2 separate regions of the Homo sapiens genome follow, and region 1 is linked to region 2. The links are contacts of gene promoters, found by promoter capture Hi-C in human tissues and cell types (Jung and others, 2019). All regions are on one chromosome and are shown on one strand. The core of a region is centred on a gene start or on the middle of the fragment in contact, and the rest is flanking DNA. Distances in the headings are between cores, read along the strand shown. Region 1 overlaps SPTAN1 (spectrin alpha, non-erythrocytic 1). Region 2 holds the start of GLE1 (GLE1 RNA export mediator).

Region 1 (4,498 bases), core at 1,817-4,316, 100 kb before region 2:
GGTGCTTCTGGTGCTTGCTCTAAAAATACCAAAAAAATTTTTTCCAAACCAGTTCCTGCTAGGTTATGTCTTTTCAGGGGGAAGGGGTTCTCAGAGGCAGGGAGTGGCAGCAAACATAAAGAACTGGGGTAAATGCCAACGTTTTTAACAGAAGGCAATTGGAGTTTGTATGAAATATTTTAGGGTTCATCTCTTGGGGAGTTAGCAAAGGAGGAAGGAAATGTACTAGCTCAGGAGTAGATGAACTGGAAGTCCTTTTTTTTGAGACAGGGTCTTGCTCAGTTGCCCAGGCTGGAGTGCAGTGGCGTAATCTCAGCTCACTGCAGCCTCAACCTCTTCGGCTCAAGCAATCCTCCTACCTCAGCCTCCCGAATAGCTGGGACCATGGGTGCATGACATCACACCCAGCTAATTTTTCTATTTTTTGTAGAGATGGGGTTTCGCCATGTTGCCCAGGCTGGTCTTGAACTCCCGAGCTCAAGCAATCGAGCCACATTGGCCTCCCAAAGTTCTGGGATTACAAGCATGAGCCACCAAGCCTGGCCAAAAAATCAATTCTTGCAGTAGCTATGCTAGCTATTTGGGAGTGAAGCCCTAGAATTACACACTTCCTAACACTTTCCAGAAGATGGCAATGGCCAACTTCAGTTTTGAATCTGCTTGTACATCAATTTCCATCCATGGCTTTCTCCTTATTGGAGACAGGCTGTAATGAATGAGATACATATGGACATTTCATTATCTAAAGCAGAAATCACCATTAAGCAAAATTCATAACATAAATTGTAATAACCAGCAAAATAATATTTGATGGTCAGTCTTTTCCCTCTGTTGACAGAGGAGAAATCTACAGCTACTACAGACATTGGCTTTGTTGATTTATCTTTAGGTAGCTGTCATTAATCAAAACACTGGGATACTGTCAGAACCCAGGCTTGACTGCAGGAAGGAATTTATTTTACTGGGAAATGAAAGGGCTAGGAGAAGGATGGGCTCCTGATCCTGGGCGCCTGATATGGTTTTTATGAATCCATAAAGAAACAGAAGGTACTGAAATGCTACAAGAGACAATTGCAAGGACATAGCAGCTATGCCACAATTCTGGGAAAAACAATTGGCTGGGTAAGAAATGCAGGGTCTCAGGGGAGTGTTATTTGGGGGGCAAAAAAAAAACAACTAAAAGGCAGTAGTGTTGGGGAATTCTGCATCAAATGTTTCATTTCAGAGGCAGCAACTGTCAAAGGATGGAGCCATCTGGCTCAATTCAGCACTAACATGAAATGTCCTTGTTACGTTCTCCCACCGCCTGATCCCAAAGCCAAGAAGGAAAAGGGTCTCAAACACTCAGATATCCTGACAAAAGTCCCATTACCCTCTTCTTCTGTTCCTTGTTCTGATCACCCTTTGGTTCAAATCCCATTTACTCTCTTCTCTATCTTCATTTCTTCCACCCGCTTAAGTAACTTTGAGCTACATGTTGACTGAAGTCTCCTTTCACTACCTGTTGAGTGATGTCTGCTTTTATCTTAACTTCTCATTTGTGTTCCTTGAAGATTTGGAGGTATTAATAGACCATCCGTCTCTCTACAGTTCTCTAGCTGTTCCTCTCCTGACTGGCACCTCTGGATGCCAGAGTGGGTATGCATTAAAACCCTCACACCAGACTGGCCTCCCCAACCCAGGCCACCGAACACCATGAGCTCATAGCAAGTCTGAGCCAATGTCTACACAGAAAAAGCTGAAGCTGATGTTCCATCTTCAAAAGGAAGCACTCCTTGAAAGAAAATGGTCAATTACTGCCCCGCAAATCAAACACTGTACAGAATTTGCCTAAGTGATAAACTGGGGGAGAGAAGGGGGAGTAAGGCGTTGCAGGCTAATTACAACAGAAAAAGCCACATCCCACAGGGACACTTGAATGGAGTGTAATGGATGATTAGAAATGAAAAGGATGGATGAAGAGACACCAGCAAACCGTGTGACCACAATAATAACAATAATCTACGCAGAGTAACACAAATACTGGAGCTCATTTAACTACAACTCTTAAAAAAATTAAAAACTTACCAGCAGCTTGGAAAGCTACAAAAACAGATTAAAAGAACAAGAGTTCAGTACACTGATGTGGACACACATATCAGCTATTAAATAGAAACTCATTTTGTCATACTTCCCCCAGGAAGCTCAGCATTTGGGAACAGTAATAGAAGGGGGATTCTATAGACTTTTATTACAGCAGAAATAGTTTTAATGGAGACAAATGAGGAAGGCAACTTTTAAATGGCTCTGAAACTTGACTAGGGCTTTCCCACTGGCTGGGCTTACTGAAATATTTCTCACTGACTTCCCATGGGTGCAAGGAGATTGTTTTATAAATGCTTTATTTAACAAAATCTACTCAATAACATAAGGCTACATCAAGACCAACACCCAGTCACTTCAGCTTACCTGGATGTTGGTGGGATCCTTGTACGACTCATCACTCGCTGTTTGCAATTTTTCACTGATCCAAGCCTCAATCTCATCCACATCCCGGCTGAACTGTTGGAGGGTTTGAGATTCTCCTAGCTTTGACCTTTTCTCAATCATCTGGGCTTTCAGACGTCGCCACCTGAAAGAGTGAAACCATGAGATCCAACATGAGCATATCTTACCGTGGAGAAGGAAGTGGGGAGACAGAACAGGCCTGGGCCTTCGTATGAGGGGATGCATCCTCTCAGGGCTGGTGACTATGTCAGTGCCACAGGACACCCACCTGTCCAAGACCTCATTGCGCCGGCTAGAAATGTCTCCCTTGGCATAATGGCCGGCAGCGATGAGCTGGTCGGCAAAGGCCTGCAGAGCAGCAATCTTCTCTTCCTGTCAGAAAACAAAGGCATGAGATCAAGGTGGGCCTGTGGCTGGGCCCTGCCTGGACTGCCAGTCTTGAGAAAAGGATAGTTATTTTGGGTGACTGAGAACTAGCTGGTGGCAGGATCAGAATACACTGACACTTTAGAAGCAAGAGTGTAAAATGCCAAAAGAAAGCTTGATTTCATTCATTACTAGAGTAGAGTTTAACTCAAGAAGTCTCCAGGTCACTCAGGTGGGGCAGGTGTTAGAATATCAGAACAGAACAAAATTAAGCCTGATAATAGGAAAATGCTGTCAGATTTACAGCAAAGTGACGTATAAATCAAACAGTTTTACATCTTCCTTGTTGTTTGTTCATTATTCCCTTACCTACCCACACATTTGTTTTCCATCCCTTTGATAATATTTTTTTTTCCTGTGGCACCCCCATTATTAAAATCTCAGAAATACCAGAATCTATAAAGTTTTAAAGATTATTTATGTACATATTTTTCTTAGACAACGCAGGTATTCCTTGGAGATATAACAGTGACTATATAAGCCAAGAAACAGATGTCAATCAGGAAAAATCCAGACTCCAACTCCATGGTCCAGAGGCCTCACCTGGACGTTAATCGCTTTGTCAAAGTCTTCATGTTTTTTGATCAGAGCCTCTACGCTGTCCAGTGAGTCTCCTTTGTCTTCGGTATTCAAGAAGGCCTCCCGGGCAGCCATCCAGTTCTCAGCTTGCTCACAGTCCCGATGGAACAGCTAAAGAGGGCAAGAGGCAGGTGAGAAAATGAGGCCCTTCAGCAAGGAAACACTTGGTCAGAAACCAGGAGCACACACACCTGCAGTTCAAGGCACTGATCCAGCATCATCCTGCGCTGAACCCAGGCCTTCTCCAGGTCTGCACGCTCCTGGTCAAGAATATCAAGTTTCTGCTTGATCTCAGGGCTGGCATAGTGTCCGTGAGCCAACAGCTGCTGTCCAAACTGCTCAAATGCCTGGAAAGTGCCAGCCCTGGCATCGATTTCTGTCCGGTGTTCCTGCCAAAAGGAGGGAAGGGATTAGGTAACTGGCAGCAGATGCCCACTCTGACGTCAACCACCGACTCACCACAAAGGGTGGGAATGAGGCCTCTAGGGCCCTGCAGAGCAGCCACGTCTTTGCTACTCAGCAGGCAGGTCCACCCACCTGGTGTCGCTCCAGCAATGCCTCAGCTCCGGTGACATCCTTGGCTAGCTCATCTGAGGACACCAACCCCCGTATTCCATTGATCCAAGACATGAGGTCCCTGGAAACCAGCACCCCAGAAAAATAGCTATTATATTACCTGGTAAGGAGATCTTCTGCCCAGGAAAACAGAGAATGACATAATTCTTGCCTCAGAAAGTTATCTTGGGTTAATCTGATCTACTGAATGAGGCTAGGTCTTTGGGCAAAGTGTTAAAAAACTTCTTGTTATTTTTTTAAAAGTCCGAATTTCTCAGAGGAAAAGTCAGTAGGCTTATAATTAAGATCTTTTCACCCTCCAGAATAACAAGTTCTAGCTACAATTAAGTCTTTGATAGCTTCAAATGAAAAAGCTTTTGTTGGCCAGGCGTGGTGGCTCATGCCTGTAATCCCAGCACTTTGGGAGGCTGAGGCAGGAGGATCGCTTGAG
Region 2 (4,554 bases), core at 424-2,923:
GAATACATAATTGTTGTACATATTTACAAGGCTACATTTTTTTTTTTGAGACACAGTCTCACTCTGTCACCCAGGCTTGAGTGCAGCAGCACAATCTCGGCTCACTGCAACCTCTGCTTCCAGGGTTCAAGCAATTCTCATGCCTCAGTCTCCCGAGTAGCTGGGATTACAGGCATGCACCACCATGCTCGGCTAATTTTGTATTTTTAGTAGAGATGCGGTTTCACCATGTTGGCCAGGCTGGTCGCGAACTCTTGACCTCAAGTGATCCGTCCCCCTCGGCCTCCCAACGTGCTGGGATTACGGGCCTGAGCCACCACGCCTAGCCTTGCATGTGATTATTTTGATACAAGCTTACAAAATCTGGGACATTTAAAATAAAATAAATAAATAATAAAAGTAATGGATTACAACTCACTGAATAAAATAGAAAGCACCTCCTTACAGTAGAATGCCAACTAACAAATGCAGAAGGAATAGCGGATATAAAGAAACAGGATCTGGCAACGTCATAGAGGTATCGATTCATGTGGAAAACATCAATGAATGCTAAAGCCATGGAGGATTAAGGTTTGCCCAGAAAAAAGGATACTGGTATTATTACTTCCCAACAATTACTAAGGGAAAAATGACGAATTTTAAACGGAGAGACCAGGCAGATAATAACGTAACCAGGTGATCAAGATTAGCATCACCAGTGTTGGGATGGGTTGACATCTGTGTGCCTCCTCATGTGACTTACTGAGAAAGCCATGGCATCATTTCTGTGGTATTCCTGCCAAGAATGCTTAACCTTGGTCTGGTGGTTTGAAAGCACATATGCTGGCAGTCAACCTACAGAATGTAAGGTCTGTATTTTTCAAAACTGTCAACAACATAAAAGACAGGGAAATACTTTAGGATTGTTTCCCAAGAAGTCTGAGGATGCAGGACAACGCCTTATCTGTAGCTAACTAGCAGCGACTCGGGAATGGGAGCTCGGCCTTAACTCTCCACATCCCTCCACTTCTCGCGCAGAGCTTTGCAAATGCTAGGTACGGTGACCACGCCCCCATTCACTTTCCAGGTCTGCCAAATCAATCTAAAAATTTGGTCATTTCACTAGTAGCAATGGATTAGGTCGTGTCAATCGTTCGTCGCAAACTCTAGAGCTCCCAGCACATGAGACATACAGTAAGTTAACTGAACCTGGGGCCGAGATTGCTTTGACAACAGCAGAACGGAGAAGGCGCCCAACTGGCGGAGGGTAGCAATGAAGCCTTCAGAGCGCGGGGCACCTGTGAAGTCAGGGGAGCTCCCCGAAACGCTAAAATAGGCTGAAGAGGACAGAAACCCCAGGACAGAGGGATGTACACACAGAAGTCAAGAAATAAATGCAGGTTGTTAGACTGCACGGGTTCCCGGGAGCAGAACGTGCCAACGGCTAGGGAGAAGGTTTCGGTCGCGAGGGGCCGGAAAGGCCTACGTCCTCCGGGGCCACCGCTCACCTCGCGCCGCAGCAGCCAGTCGCGGTAGTAGCAAAGGCGACCTTTGTCGGAACTGCGTAGGGCCTTCAAGGTCTCCCAGCAGCGACCCTCAGACGGCATGGTTGGCTAAGGGGCAGCTTCTCTGACGCCCCCCTTCTGACCAAACAAGCCCTCGAATCAGCCGCCGGGAAGGCCACACAGGCTTCTGCTTCCGGGACGCGCGCGCAGCACAGCCCCGCCCCTAACGCCTGCACGCCCCACCTCCGGCGACGCTCCCGCGTTCCCGCCCTCCCACCAGTGCGCCTGCGCGCAGGGCTTGGCTGTCGGGGCACGTTCCGCAGAGGTAACCACCGCTCCCAATCCCCGGGGCTGCTGAAAATTTGTCTGTGCCTTGAGACTGTGCAGAAACTGGAACCCTCATACACTGCTCATGGGACTGTAAAATGAAGCACCTGCTGTGGAAGACAGTCTGGCAGTTCCTCAAAAGGTTAAACAATTACCATTTGACCCAGCAATTCTCCTAGGTAAATATATATATATATATAAAATACGCCAAAGAAATGAAACCTATGTATATATAAAAACTTGTCCATGAATGTTCACAGCAGTGTTATTCATAATAGCCAAAAAGTGAAAGCAACCCAAACGTCCATCCATTGGTGAATGGATAAATAAAATATAGTACTATGTGCGCGGTTCCCGAGTTCCCCCGCTTTCTGTGCACTGACCAAGTATCAGAGTGCCTTGACCGCCCTGTGACCCAGCCAGCTGCAAGTTTTTTCCTGCAGACTTGCAACCAAACACGGGCCTTGCATATCCCTAGGCACTAAGGATATCTAGGTTATTGCCCAAAACGCTGAAACTGACCCCTGCTTTTAGCCAAATTCCATAAACCCTCATATAAACTTCATACCCTGACCCCTCGCTGGGGATGTACCTAGGTGAAACACCGCTTCTCTCTGTCTGTCGCGAGAATTGCTGCAGCCCACTCTGTAAGCTTCCCTAATAAATGTTTTGGGTTTAATGCTGCTTTTTTGAGACAGAGTCTTGCTCTGTCCCCCAGGCTGGAGTACAGTGGCTCGATCTCGGCTCACTGCAACCTCCGCCTCCCGGGTTCAAGCGATTCTCCTGCCTCAGCTCCCCGTGTAGCTGGGACTACACGCGCCAGCCACCACGCCCAGCTATTTTGTATTTTTAGCAGAGGCGGGGTTTCACCATGTTGGTCAGGCTGGTCTCGAACTCCTGACCTCAGTTGATCCACCCACCTCGACCTCCCAAAGCGTTGGGATTACAGGCATGAGCCACTGCGCCCGGCCATAGTGCTTCTTTGGAATCCCAACCAGCCCTGTTTGGCAGGAGGAAACACCACATCTATATAATGGAATGTTATGGGGCCATAAAAATAAAGTGCTGATGATACGCTGCAACATCAATCTTGAAAGCATTATGCTGAGAGAAGCCAGTCATGAATGGCCACATGTTGGACAATTCCACTTATGTGAAATATCCAGAAGAGACAAATCTATAGAGCCAGAGAAACTTTATGACTAGTTGCCAGGGGCTGGGGGAGGGGAATGGGGAGTGACTGCTAATGGGTATGGCGTTTCTTTTTTGGGAGTGATGAAATTGGTTGGCTGGGTGCCGTAATCCCAGCACTTTGGAAGGCCAAGGTGGGCAGATCACCTGAGGTCAGGAGTTTCAGACAAGCCTGGGCAACATGGCAAAACCCTGTCTCTACAAAAAATACAAAAATTAGCCAGGCAAAGTGCCATGCACCTATAGTCCCCACAGGCTGATGCAGGAGGATCCCTTGAACTCTGGAGGCAGAGGCTGCAGTGAGCCGAGATGGTGCCACTGCACTGTAGCCTGGGTGACAGAGAGAGACTCCATTTCGAAAAAAGAAAAAACTAGGTCTAGAATTAGATAATGGTGATGGCTACACAACTTGGTGAATATACTACAAACCATTGAATTATATATACACTTTATCTTTTCGAGACAGAATCTCGCCGTGTTGCCCAGGCAGGAGTGCAGTGGCGTGATCTTGGATCACTGCAACCTCCACCTCCTGGGTTCAAGTGATTCTCCTGCCTCAACCTACCAAGTAGCTGGGACTACAGGCGTCCACCACCACTCCCGGCTAATTTTTGTATTTTTAGTAGAGACAGGGTTTCACCATGTTGGCCAGGCTGGTCTCGAACTCCTGACCTCAGGTGATCCACCCGCCTCGGCCTCCCAAAGTGCTGGGATTACAGGTGTGAGTGACCACGCCTGGCCTATATTTACACTTTAAAAGGGTGAATTCTAGGCCAGGTATGGTGGCTCATGCTTGTAATCCCAGCAGTTTGGGAGGCCAAGGTAGGAGGATGGCTTGAGCCCAGGAGTTTGAGACCAACCTGGACAACATGATGAGACCTGCCTCTACCAAAAAAAAAAAAAATCCAAAAATTAGCCAGGCATGGTGGCATGCACCTGTGCTCCCAGCTACTCAGAAGGCTGAGGCAGGAGATCGCTTAAACCCAGGAGGCTGAGGCTGTAGTGAGCCATCATTGTGCCACTGCTCACCAGCTTGGATGACAGAGGGAGACCCTGTTTCAAAAAAATAAAAAGAGTGAATTTTATGTGAATTATATCTCAATAAAAATAGAATGAGTCACAATTGTCCAGAGACGGCTCTAACTGGGACCCCAGACTTTCTGACCCTTCCATTGTCCACCACCTCGTGAGATCTCAGTTTGAGGTAGGAAGAATTCTCTCTGGAGTATGAGCAATGTGAACAATTTTCATTTTCTGAGTTTTTAAAAATTCCCTGGACTTCTTGTAATAAAAATATTTTAAAAAGAAAAATTGTTGGAAGAGTCCCCAGAGTCCCAGCAAGGGACTCCAAGAGAGGTGTTGCTCACACCAGAGTTACATAGCAGTGCCCTGCACTGAGGTTTTCTCTAGTTTGGCAAAAATAATAATGAGTTATACAGATATATATACATGCTGGTGGAAGTTTGTCAATTGTCCTTTCTCGGGAAGGTCTTTCACCTATTATAAGTTCTTGTCTATTTACGTTAAGAGTATGAAAATGGGCTTAGTTTTT

What was found. Contacts are between HindIII fragments. The study calls those that stand out against the background at their distance.
Region 1: a contact is called between a fragment that was not itself captured here and the fragment with the promoter of GLE1 in region 2, in 2 of the 25 tissues and cell types used here (dorsolateral prefrontal cortex and liver).

Annotation. Positions count from the first base shown.
Region 1 is chr9:128,607,235-128,611,732 of GRCh38, reverse strand. It overlaps SPTAN1 (spectrin alpha, non-erythrocytic 1), which reads right to left. Exons shown (of 57, transcript NM_001130438.3): 32 at 4,030-4,129; 33 at 3,684-3,881; 34 at 3,457-3,603; 35 at 2,756-2,859; 36 at 2,449-2,611; 37 at 2,068-2,082; 38 at 1-19. Among named protein-coding and RNA genes, the nearest start is that of DYNC2I2, 47 kb to the left of the region's middle. The HindIII fragment of the contact is 5,536 bases long and covers 299-4,498 here.
Region 2 is chr9:128,501,838-128,506,391 of GRCh38, reverse strand. GLE1 (GLE1 RNA export mediator) reads right to left here and starts at 1,673. Exons shown (of 16, transcript NM_001003722.2): 1 at 1,488-1,673. The coding sequence starts at 1,586. RefSeq lists an enhancer at 1,273-1,432 and a silencer at 1,653-1,862. The HindIII fragment of the contact is 8,169 bases long and covers 1-3,955 here.